Regions from separate parts of the Homo sapiens genome. Here regions 2, 3 and 4 are each linked to region 1. The links are contacts of gene promoters, found by promoter capture Hi-C in human tissues and cell types (Jung and others, 2019). All regions are on one chromosome and are shown on one strand. The core of a region is centred on a gene start or on the middle of the fragment in contact, and the rest is flanking DNA. Distances in the headings are between cores, read along the strand shown.

Evidence for each region. Contacts are between HindIII fragments. The study calls those that stand out against the background at their distance.
Region 2: a fragment that was not itself captured here is called in contact with the fragment with the promoter of SLC5A10 in region 1 in 7 of the 25 tissues and cell types used here (bladder, liver, lymphoblastoid cells and 4 more).
Region 3: a contact is called between a fragment that was not itself captured here and the fragment with the promoter of SLC5A10 in region 1, in 3 of the 25 tissues and cell types used here (dorsolateral prefrontal cortex, mesenchymal stem cells and spleen).
Region 4: a contact is called between a fragment that was not itself captured here and the fragment with the promoter of SLC5A10 in region 1, in 2 of the 25 tissues and cell types used here (dorsolateral prefrontal cortex and spleen).

The regions. Positions count from the first base shown.
Region 1 is chr17:18,950,791-18,953,622 of GRCh38, forward strand. SLC5A10 (solute carrier family 5 member 10) reads left to right here and starts at 1,375. Exons shown (of 15, transcript NM_001042450.4): 1 at 1,375-1,526. The coding sequence starts at 1,416. The HindIII fragment of the contact is 13,514 bases long and covers 1-2,832 here.
Region 2 is chr17:18,846,724-18,849,555 of GRCh38, forward strand. No RefSeq gene overlaps it. Among named protein-coding and RNA genes, the nearest start is that of PRPSAP2, 10 kb to the right of the region's middle. The HindIII fragment of the contact is 5,637 bases long and covers 1-2,832 here.
Region 3 is chr17:18,863,333-18,866,164 of GRCh38, forward strand. It overlaps PRPSAP2 (phosphoribosyl pyrophosphate synthetase associated protein 2), which reads left to right. Exons shown (of 12, transcript NM_002767.4): 2 at 2,137-2,232; 3 at 2,470-2,620. The coding sequence starts at 2,502. Among named protein-coding and RNA genes, the nearest start is that of PRPSAP2, 6.6 kb to the left of the region's middle. The HindIII fragment of the contact is 6,276 bases long and covers 1-2,832 here.
Region 4 is chr17:19,014,979-19,017,810 of GRCh38, forward strand. It overlaps SLC5A10 (solute carrier family 5 member 10), which reads left to right. Exons shown (of 15, transcript NM_001042450.4): 11 at 71-221. Among named protein-coding and RNA genes, the nearest start is that of FAM83G, 12 kb to the left of the region's middle. RefSeq lists an enhancer at 1-95. The HindIII fragment of the contact is 7,730 bases long and covers 1-2,832 here.

The DNA of each region.
Region 1 (2,832 bases), core at 125-2,624:
CTGCAATCTCTACCTCCTGAGTTCAAGCAATTCTCCTGCCTCAGCCTCCCAAGTAGCTGGGATTACAGGTGCGTACCACCATGTCTGGCTAATTTTTGTATTTTTAGTAGAGACGAGGTTTTGCCATGTTGGCCAGGCTGGTCTCAAACTCCTGATCTCAGGTGATCCACCCGCCTTGGCCTCCCAAAGGCATGAGCCTCCCAAGGGCATGAGCCACTGCTCCTGGCCGAGGGGATTAATTTTTACCCGCACCTCAGGGTTATTGAGTAACAGGCTGGCTGGGTTTGCAGGCCAGCGTGTTCCTGGTGGCAGCCGCTCACTCATTAACACTTCTGGAAGTGCTGCATGTCTGGTTAAACTGCAAATGCTTTGCAAAGTCACGAGTCATGTCACTGAGCAGAGGCGTGAGACTGCCGGCCAGCCCTGCTGTGTACACTGATAGAATTAGTGAGCGAGCGTCCCACTCTGATGGAATCCAGATGGAACTCGTCACTGTCACTGCGGTGGAGACGGTGGGGCCACATCTGCACTGAATCCTACTCTGCGCCTTCAATGGCTGCGTAATGGCGGATGGCCATTTCCTTGACTAGGATGAGACATTGCCTACTCTGCGTGGCTGCTGTGAGCGTGAAATGGGATCATGTGCGGAACAGCCACGCATGGTCCGTGAAATGGGATCATGTGCAGAACAGCCACGCATGGTCCTTGGTGTGTGACAGATATTGGGTCCCTCTGTGGTCCCAGGCAGACATTGCCCGGGGTGGGGGCCGAATGCATGGTCAAGTTGAGGGGCCTGGGACTGTTTCACGGGTCTAGAAAAAGAAAGCAGAAACGCTGGAAGCAGGACTTTATTGTCCGACATGGGGCTGCCTCTGAGCCTGGGCTGTGTTGGCTGGACGTGAGCCATAATGCAGGTGTCCCCCTCCCAAGCCCTGCTCAGTCCACTCACAGCCCGATGGCCAAGGGAGGACATGGCTGCCCGCCACGGCAGTATCTTCAGAGGTGAGGCGGTTGTCCCTACGCTCTATGCTTCTTATACAAATTAGATATAGGTGAAGCCACCCATTAAGCAACCCAGCCTTTCTGGGACTATTTGGGCTGCCTCCGGGTCCACTAAATGCGGTTCATTTTCCCCAAGCCCCCTCCGAGTTCAAGGAGGCTCCTTCCTTTCCTCCTCCCACTTGCTTCTCCCAGGCTCCCTGACTCCTGCGCTCTGGGATCTGCACCCCACCATGGGGTGAGGAAGCTGAACTGCATGGTGAGGCAGCTGCCCTGCATGCAGCCACATCATGGGCTGGAGATGCCACTGTCCGCTTGGTTTAATGATCAATGAGCTCCCTGCCAGGAAACCCTTTCTGACCTGGTTTGCCCCTCAGTCCCTCGGGCTCATACCTAGTGCCTGCGGCAGGACAGCCATGGCCGCCAACTCCACCAGCGACCTCCACACTCCCGGGACGCAGCTGAGCGTGGCTGACATCATCGTCATCACTGTGTATTTTGCTCTGAATGTGGCCGTGGGCATATGGGTAAGGGGACCTGTGGTGGTGTTGGCCAAGTGGGCTCTCAGGGTTGGTGCTTGGGGTGGGAACCGGGGTCCAGCATGTCCCTGTGGTGTCAGCATTGGTCCCAGCTGGTGGCCTAGTGATCCTTGTGGTCCTCCTCCCAGCCTGGGGTAGACTTGCTTGGAGACCTTGACCAAGCCCGTTTCTCTCTTTGGGTAATGGCGTCTCCATCTGCAAAGTGAGGAGGAGGAAATTCTCTCTAACAGGTAACTGGGCTTTTGTGCTGCTGCCCAGCTGGAGTCCTTGGGTGTGGCCCATCAGCCTCCTGGTCCCAGTCTCCATGGTGTCAGTGACTCCTGTCTGCTTGAACAACAGGCTCCCCGGGATTCCCTGGCTGCACCCCAGAGCTGCTGGATCAGAATCCGGAGGCAGGGAGGGCCCTGGGAACTGGGGGTCTTTATTTTGAACAAGCTCCCTGGGGATTTATGTCCTGTGGCCTAGCCCTAGATCATAAGCCGGTTCTTTCTCCCTTCATAACAGTGAGAAATGAGCAGAGATCTGACCCCACACACAGATTCCAGGGGCAGCGGGGCCCCTGGGGACAGGCTGTTTCATGTGCAGATGGAGAAACCGAGGCTCTGGCCCTGCAGCAAGGGAAGGGCTCCTCTGGTCTATCGTGGAGGCCTTCCTGAGGGAAGGTGGACACAGCCTGGTTCAGGTCACCTGCTCCACGCTTAGCGCCTGGGGATGTTGGGCTCCACTTCTTAAGCCCCAGAGGTCCCCAGCCTGGCATCCCTGAGCCCTGACAGTCTCCTGGGGAGAATGAGTACCCCTTCTTTTTTTTTTTTTTTTTTTTTAACTGAGACGGAGTCTAGCACTGTCACCTGGGCTGGAGTGCAGTGGCACTATCTCGGCTCACTGCAACCTCCACCTCCTGGGTTCAAACAATTCTGCCTCAGCCTCCTGAGTAGCTGGGATTACAGGCGTCCACTACCACACCCAGGTAATGTTTTGTATTTTTAGTAGAGACAGAGTTTTACCGTGTTGGCCAGGCTAGTCTCGAACTCCTGACCTCATGATTTGCCCGCCTCGGCCTCCCAAAGTGCTAGAATTACAGGCGTGAGCCACCGCGCCCGGCCGAGTACCCGTTCTTATCTTCCATAACCCCTGGCCTAAGCACGAAGGCCTGGCAAACAGGAGACTGGTCACGTCCCCTCAGCTTCCTGGGCCTCAGTGTTCTGATCTGTTATATGGAGACACCACCTACCTGGGGTGAGGTCTGCTATCAAGGGGCCCACACAGGACCAGACCTTGCTGCTGCCATTGGTTC
Region 2 (2,832 bases), core at 108-2,607, 100 kb before region 1:
CAACTTTAAACTGCAGTTTTCTGTTTAAAAGTTGCCTTCCATCAACTATGTTTAAAATGAAAATGATTTCATATTCCAGAACTATAGACTTAATTTGGAAGTGTGGGTCAAGAGGAATTGTTTAATAATTGCTCTCAGGAAGATCTCTTTTTTTGATGCTTAGTCTTAACCAGAAGAATTCGCTACATAGTTAAAAAACAAACAAACAAACAAACAAACAAAAAGCAATTATTAATTTTGTTTCGGTTTTTAGTATTTTCAGAGACTTCTGCTAAACTCCTAATCTCCAGTGGGATATGTTTGTCTCTTTGTTAATGTATGTAGTTATATGATAGTGATATTCTTTTTTTTATTCCTTAATCTTTTTTTGTTCACTTTCTCTTCCATGCAATGATAGTGATATAATGTGTGTTTACTTCATAAAAAAGTAATTACAATTTTCTGCTGGCAAATCCAGCTTTTTATATTAAGACTAAGTACTAGACTAAATATGTGGGAAATTTACCAAATTATTTTATTTTCAAACAAACATATAACTAATCAGAATATTGCTATTTTTGAACAATATATAATGACTATACTGATATTTAGGAATTTTAACACTAAGATTTTTTTCTTCCCGAGACATTTCCTTGATTTCTTTCATGTAATATGTGCCTGTTATTTTTAAAACTTGGTTTAATCTGTTTAAACATTATTGTATTTAAAAACAAAACCCAAAACATAGCACAGATCTAAATATGAGTTTCATGTGTGAGAGTCATTGCCTGTGTGCAGTGGACTCCAGCTGTTTTTTTTTTTTTTTTTGAGACGCAGTCTCGCTCTGTCGCCCAGGCTGGAGTGCAGTGGCGCCATCTCAGCTCACTGCAAGCTCCGCCTCCTGGGTTCCCGCCATTCTCCTGCCTCAGCCTCCCGAGTAGCTGGGACTACAGGCACCCGCCACCGCACCCAGCTAATTTTTTGTATTTTTAGTAGAGACGGGGTTTCACCGTGGTCTCAATCTCCTGACCTCATGATCCGCCCGCCTCGGCCTCCCAAAGTGCTGGGATTACAGGCGTGAGCCACCACGCCCGGCCAGCTGTTTTTTTTTCTTTTCTTTTTTCTTTGTGACAGAGTCTCACTCTGTCACCAGGCTGGAGTGCAGTGGCAATCTCAGCTCACTGCAACCTCCAGCTCCTGGGTTCAAGCGATTCTTCTGCCTCAGCCTCCCGAATAGCTGGGACTACAGGTGCGCCACCATGCCCAGCTAATTTTTGTATTTTTAGTAGAGATGGGTTTCACCAAGTTGGCCAGGCTGGTCTTGAACTCCTGACCTCAGGTGATCCTCCCACCTTGGCCTCCCAAAGAGTTGGGATTACAGGCGTGAGCCACCGTGCCCGGCCTGTATTTTATTTTTATTTTTTTATTTTTGAGGACGGAGTTTCGCTCTTGTTGCCCAGGCTGGAGTGCAGTGGTACGATTTCAGCTCACTGCAACCTCCGCCTCCCGGCTTCAAGCAATTCTCCTGCCTCAGCCTCCCGAGTAGCTGGGATTACAGGTGCCCACGACCACACCTAGCTAATTTTTTGTATTTTTGGTAGAGACGAGGTTTCACCATGTTCGAGGCCAGGCTGGTCTCGAACTCCTGAACTCAGGTGATCCACCTGCCTCAGCCTCCCAAAGTGCTGGGATTACAGGTGTGAGCCACTGCACCCGGCCTGTAAGTAATTGTTATTTTGTTTTCTGTTATATGCAGCCATCTCCTGATATATGATCTGGGCCACCCTCTTAGATTCAAAGGCAGAATCAACAGGAATCTGATCTAACTGTTCTGAGCCCTGGAGCTTGGGCCCAGGCCTGTCTCCTCGGCTTCCTCCTGGATGGTGGGCTGCGAGGGCGGTTACAGCATTGTCCATCCATGTCCCCAGCTCTGAGTCCCTCACCTTCCAGACTCTCCTCAGCTGTCACCAACTGTTTGAGTTAGTTTCCCCAGGCCTCTCAGCTTCTACCTCTAAATGCCAGCAAAGGAGTGAAATCACACACCGGGAAAGCCTGTGGGAGGTGGAAGCTTCCCAGAGCAGGGCCTCAGTGGAGACAGGATTTCCGCAAGCAAAGAAGGGAACAACAGCACAGGCAGAGCTGCAGAGGTAGCGGAGGGGCTGGAGGGCAGCTGCACTGAGGGCAGGTGCCCAGAGGGAGTGGGAGGGAAGTCAAGACAGACAGTCCACAGGGACTGCAAGCAGGGCAGAAGACCTGTCCTTCAGGCCGGCAGATTTTAAAAAATAAACTTTAAGCCAGGTGCAGGGGCACATGTCTGTAGTCCTAACTACTTGGGAAGCTGAGGCAGCAGGATCACTGGAATCCAGGAGGCTGGGGCTGCAGTGAGCTATGATCACACCACTGTACTCCAGCCTGGGCGACAGAGTAAGACTCCGTCTCAAAAAAAAAAAAAAATTAAAAATGAGTTACTTATATCATCTGGATATATGTCCTTTGTCATCGGATATAGGTCCTTTGTCTTCAGATATATGTAGTGTGAATATTTTCTCCCAATCTGTGTCTTTCGATATAGGCAGTTAAAAAAAAATGAATGTATTTAATCCTTTCAAAGGCTCTACACTATTTTGGGAGAATGAGAGGGCTTCAATCTGTTACACACAGACTTAGAGTGATATGTCACAGAATTACATCTAGGTAAGAAGCAATGTGATGCTGGGCGTGGTGGCTCATGCCTGTAATCCCAGCATTTTGAGAGGCCGAAGTGGGCGGATCATCTGAGGTCGGGAGTTCAAGAGCAGCCTGACCAACATGGAGAAACTCTGTCTCTACTAAAAATATAAAATTAGCTGGGCG
Region 3 (2,832 bases), core at 245-2,744, 87 kb before region 1:
AGCCCACCTTGGCCTCACAAGGTGCTGGGATTAGCGGTGTGAGTTGCTGTGCCTGGCCATACCTTTTGTTCTTAAACACACATGTTTATTGGTTGAGAGATGGCTTTAGAAGTATTTAAGATCCCTTCCAGAATGTTGATGATTAAACGTATTCTTTCTTTCTTTTCTTTCTTTCTTCCCTTTCTTTCTTCTTCTCTTTTCTTTTCTTTTCTTTATTTGAAACGGAGTCTCGCTCTGTCGCCCAGGCTGGAGTGCAGTGGCGCGATCTTGGCTCACTGCAAGCTCTGCCTCCTGGGTTCATGCCATTCTTCTGCCTCAGCCTCCCGATTAGCTGGGACTACAGGCACCTGCCACCACGCCCGGCTAATCTTTTGTATTTTTAGTGGAGACAGCGTTTCGCCATGTTGTCCAGGCTGGTCTCGAACCCCTGACCTCAGGTGATCCACCCACCTCGGCCTCCCAAAGTGCTGGGATTACAGGCGTAAGCCACTGCGTGGCCTTTTTTTTTTTTTTTTTTTTTTAATTTTTTAGATGGAGTTTTGTTCTCATTGCCCAGGTTGGAGTGCAGTGGATCTCAGCTCACTGCAACTTCTGCCTCCTGGGTTTAAGCGATTCTCCTGCCTCAGCCTCATGAGTAGCTGGGATTACAGGCATGTACCACCATGCCTGGCTTATTTTTATTTTTATTTTTTTGTATTTTTAGTAGAGATGGGGTTTCACCATGTTGGTCAGGCTGGTCTCGAACTCCTGGCCTCAAGTGATCTGCCCACCTCAGCCTCCCAAAGTGCTAGGATTACAGGCGTGAGCCACTGTGCCTGGCCGTATATAATTTTTATGGAGGTCACATGTATAAATGCATAGAAAAAGTCTTATGTTGTCCCTACCAAACTGATAAGAACCCTCACTTCTGGGGAGGACCTGGGATCGAGGCTGGTGACTTTATCCTTAACTATCATGTTTCAGGTTTTTTTTTTTTTCTGAGACGGAGTCTCGCTCTGTTGCCCAGGCTGGAGTACAGTGGTGCAATCTTGGCTCACTGCAACCTCTGCCTCCTGAGTTCAAGCGATTCTCAAGCCTCAGCCTCTAGAGTAGCTGGGACTATAGGCAGCCACCACCACGCCCAGCTCATTTTTGTATTTTTAGTAGAGACAGATTTCACCCTTTTGGCCAGGCTGGTCTTGAACTCCTGACCTTGTGATCCGCCTGCCTTGGCCTCCCAAAGTGCTGGGATTACAGGTCTGAGCCACCGCGCCCAGCCATGTTTCAGGTTTTTATAGGGAGGATGTGTTTGTGTTTTACTTGTATAATTAAAATTTGAGAATAATGAAAAAGATTAGCTTAGTTTCAGCTCATTGATGATCTACACCAGCCTTCCCAGAGGTCCCAGGTGAACATACAACTGTGGAAATGCAGTGGGCTTGCTGAGAAAGGGCCCCCCTGCCCACAGCCTGCTGGATTGTTGCTGTTCCTCCCATCTAGCATCTCCATTATGTGATGAGGACACTCAGCAATGATGACGACTTTTTTTTTTTGAGATGGAGTCTTGCTGTGTCGCCAGGCTGGAAGTGCAGTGGCACGATCTCAGCTCACTGCAACCTCTGCCTCCCAGGTTCACGTCATTCTCCTACCTCAGCCTCCCGAGTAGGTGGGACTACAGGCACGCGCCACCATGCCCAGCTATTTTTTGTATTTTTAGTAGAGACAGGGTTTCACCATGTTGGCCAGGGTGGTCTTGATCTCTTGATCTCGTGATCTGCCTGCCTTGGCTTCCCAAAGTGCTAGGATTACAGGCGTGAGCCACCACATCTGACCAGCACTGATGATTTATAAGCCAGGGACCTTTTTATTTTTGGCCCACTGCCAAAATTTGGGTGTGACCAAAACTGTCATTTGGGTGGTCGCTTAAGTGTCCTTCAAGGTGATTATCTAGTCAGCCCGTGTTCCACTTGAGGAAAATGAAGATGAGAGGTCAGTTTTAGACATGACACAGGGCAGCTGAAAGGCCGGGAAAGGTTTTATGGTAAACAAGGATTACAGGAAAAGCTGGGTGTAGATGGGTCATTTATTCTTTGTCTAAGGATTAATCAGTCCTTGTTCTCGCTAATGGCTCTGCCATTTTTCTGTGTGTTAATCCAGGAGGAATTTTGTTGTCAGAGAATAAAAGGAGGTTGTCCATAATTGACTTTAAGCAGCAATCAGTAAAACATTGAGCTCTTCAGCTCCGCCTTTCTTGTAAGTTTATCATTTCTTCTTAGTGGTTGTGAACATCATGTGATAATGTATTTCCATAAATTTAGGACCCTGAAATCCAACTGAACTTTCTGTTTGTCCATATATATCTAATATTTAAAAAATACTATTAGGATGGAAACTAATTTCCTTCAGCTGAAGTCATTTCCTTTAAAAAAAATTCATTCAGGTATATTTCATATCATATGGCAGTTTTTAATAAGTATTATATCCTTCTAGGCTCTGAAAATTGGAAAACCAAGAAGGTTTTGATGTTTTGTGTGACGCCACCTGAATTAGAAACCAAGATGAACATAACCAAAGGTGGTCTGGTGTTGTTTTCAGCAAACTCGAATTCATCATGTATGGAGCTATCAAAGAAAATTGCAGAGTGAGTTATAATTGTACCATTAAAATCTATATTCATTATGTGATGCTTTAAATTTGATAATCAGATTAGCAGTTATTGTTAAATTTGAAAGCAGATATTTTATAATTATAAAATAATTATATCTTTTTTTCATCATGTATCTTTTTTTTCATCATGCAAGATGTTCATGTAGTATGTCTCATCTGTATATATTAAGGGCTATTCTTTTTGTA
Region 4 (2,832 bases), core at 96-2,595, 64 kb after region 1:
CCCAGGCGGGAGGGGTTCCCGGGGCTGTCTCAAGGCCGGACAGGGTCACACATCCCCCGTCCCACCCCAGGTCTGCGGGGGCTGATGATCGCAGTGATGCTGGCGGCGCTCATGTCGTCGCTGACCTCCATCTTCAACAGCAGCAGCACCCTCTTCACTATGGACATCTGGAGGCGGCTGCGTCCCCGCTCCGGCGAGCGGGAGCTCCTGCTGGTGGGACGGTACGGGGGTGGGGGCCAGTACGGGGGTGGGGGAACACTACAAGGGTGGGCGCCCGCACTGACTTTGAGGGATGAGCCGGAGTTTGCCACTTAGAGAAAGGTGGATGCCAGGAAGGAGGGAAGAGAAGGGCCAGTGTACCCCATCCATACCACCTCTCACATTGCTCTCCTGTCCACCTCTGTGTGATCACAGCCCTCATCTGGGATGCATCTCCACCCTTGAGCTGGATTCCTTCTGCAGGGGCCAGCCCTCCCTCCCCAACCATGCCACAGATCTCTCTATCTCCCCGAAAACCTGGGCCCCCATTCCTCCTGATGGTTCCCAGCTGCGCCACAGAGGGCCCCCGGGCCAGCACTCAGGACTGGCCACACTTGGGCTGCCACGTCCCTCAGCCTCCATGGCCCTGGCCCTACTGAGCTCCAGCTTGTTTCCTCCCAGCCCAGCTTGTCCCCTCCTTTTTCACCTCGATGACTCATGCTGATCTTTCTGGACTCTGCCTGTGTCCCCTCCTCCGTGCAGTCCTCCCTGAGACCCTCAACCAAGGAATGAGCCTCTCTCCCCTTCATACCCCAGGGACGCTTGCCAGATTCTTCCCACAGCACATGTGGCCATTACAGGCCAAGAGACCTCCCCGACACCCTTCTCCAAATATCTGGGCGCTTCATGAGGACCGGGGCTGTGTCTGGAGAACAGGTGGTGTTTGGTTACATGAATAAGTTCTTTAGTGGCGATTTCTCAGATTTTGGTGTATCCATCACCCGAGTGGTATACACTGTACCCAATGTGTAGTCTTTTATCCCTCACACCCTCCCAGCGTTTCCCCTGAGTCCTCAAAGTCCATTGTATCATTCTTTTTTTTTTTTTTGAGACAGTCTCGTTTTGTCACCCAGGCTGGAGTGCAGTGGTATGATCTTGGCTCCCTGCGACCTCCACCTCCCGGGTTCAAGAGATTCTCGTGTCTCAGCCTCTTGAGTAGCTGGGATTGCAGGAGCGCACCACCACGCCTGGCTACTTTTTGTATTTTTAGTAGAGACAGGGTCTCACCATGTTGGCCAGGCTGGTCTCGAACTCCTGACCTCAGGTTATTCATCCACCTCAGCGGGCTGGGATTACAGGTATGAGCCAGTGTGCCCAGCCCATCCTATCACTCTTATGCCTTTACATCCTCAGAGGTTAGCTCCCATGTGCACGTGTCTATTTGCGCCCTCCCTGGCCCTCCAGTCCCACCCTCTTGTTGTCCTCTGAGCAGTGTGGCTCACACTCTGCTGCTCGGGGGTCCAGCCTTCTGGCACAACAGAGCACCCCCTGGCCAGGAGCCCAGGGCACCCATCCTGGGGGTGGGGTCTCCTCCAGAGCTCCAGGCAGCTGTCCCAGGGATGCAAAATAGTCAGGCTTCTGTTGGAAGGGCCCTGTTGGGACACGCCAGAGGCGGGTGCGAGTGAGCTCATCCACGGGCTCACAGGATTCTCCAAAACAAGGAGCCTCCCACCTCTCACTGGGCAGGACACTTCCATGTCCCTGTGTCCTGGGCACTTGGCCCCTTGACCACTTCTCCCCCTCTGGCTCCCCTGCCTCTCCTCAGAAGCTGTGTGGCCTGGGGAAGACCCTGCCCCTCTCTGACCATGTGTCTCCTCTGAGGCCAGACCTTGCTCTAAGCCCCTCCATGCTCCAGCATCCTGGGCCCTGGGAACTGGATGCCCTCCTGCCACCCAGTGTGTGACACTGGTAGCCCCTGTACCTGCCCAGTGGCCCTCATGTCCCCTGCCCACTACTTCCTGGCCTCCTCACCCAGACTCCCACCTGCAACCAAAAGTCTTGACCTGGCCTCCTGCTGCGCCAGCTCACCCAGCTGCCCGTGCCCTTGACCCTCCTTCCCACCTCTTCTGCCAAGTCAACCCCCGCCCCTAGCCCTGCAAGCCTGGCAGTCGGCCTCCCTGAGGAGCAAGGCACAAGGCTGCGTGGTGCAGGGCAGGTTGCTCACCCTCTCTGGGCCCCAGTTCTCTCAGCTGCCAGCTGGATAGAGCAGAAAGGGCCCCGTGCCAGGTGTCAGGCTGGCCAGCTCAACTTCCCGTCCCTCTTACAGCACTGGGATACCCTCAACACCCCCAGCCCCTCAAAGCCGTCTCAGCTTCCTCCTGCCCGAAACACCACCATTGGAGCGGTATCTCCTAGGCCTCGTGGTCATGGATCTCTGGTAGGGTGAATGGCCTGACAACAGTCTCTGTCAGGGAGAGGCGAGGCTTACAGAGAGAAGACCAACAGCCCAGAGGCCTGGAGAGGAGGCCATCGCAGGGCCGGGTGCAGTACCATGCCGGTGACCCTGATGGCTCTGTCCAGCTGAGCAGAGGCTGGAGGAGCCGTCACAGGCTGGGGGAGAGCGATGACCCGCCCCCACTCCCGTATGCCTGCCCCAAGCCCCCACACCTCAGTCCACTGTTCCGCCACTGCCCCCCTGCCCCACTCTCCCCTGTCTGTGTTCCCGGCTGTTCAGTCCGTAAATGGGGCCCACAGCCTCCTGGAAACCCTGTGCAGGACTCGGAGAGATCTCAGACACCCCTCCTTGAGATGTTCCACAGTAACTGTGGCTGCAGCCCAGGGAGATGCTGGAGG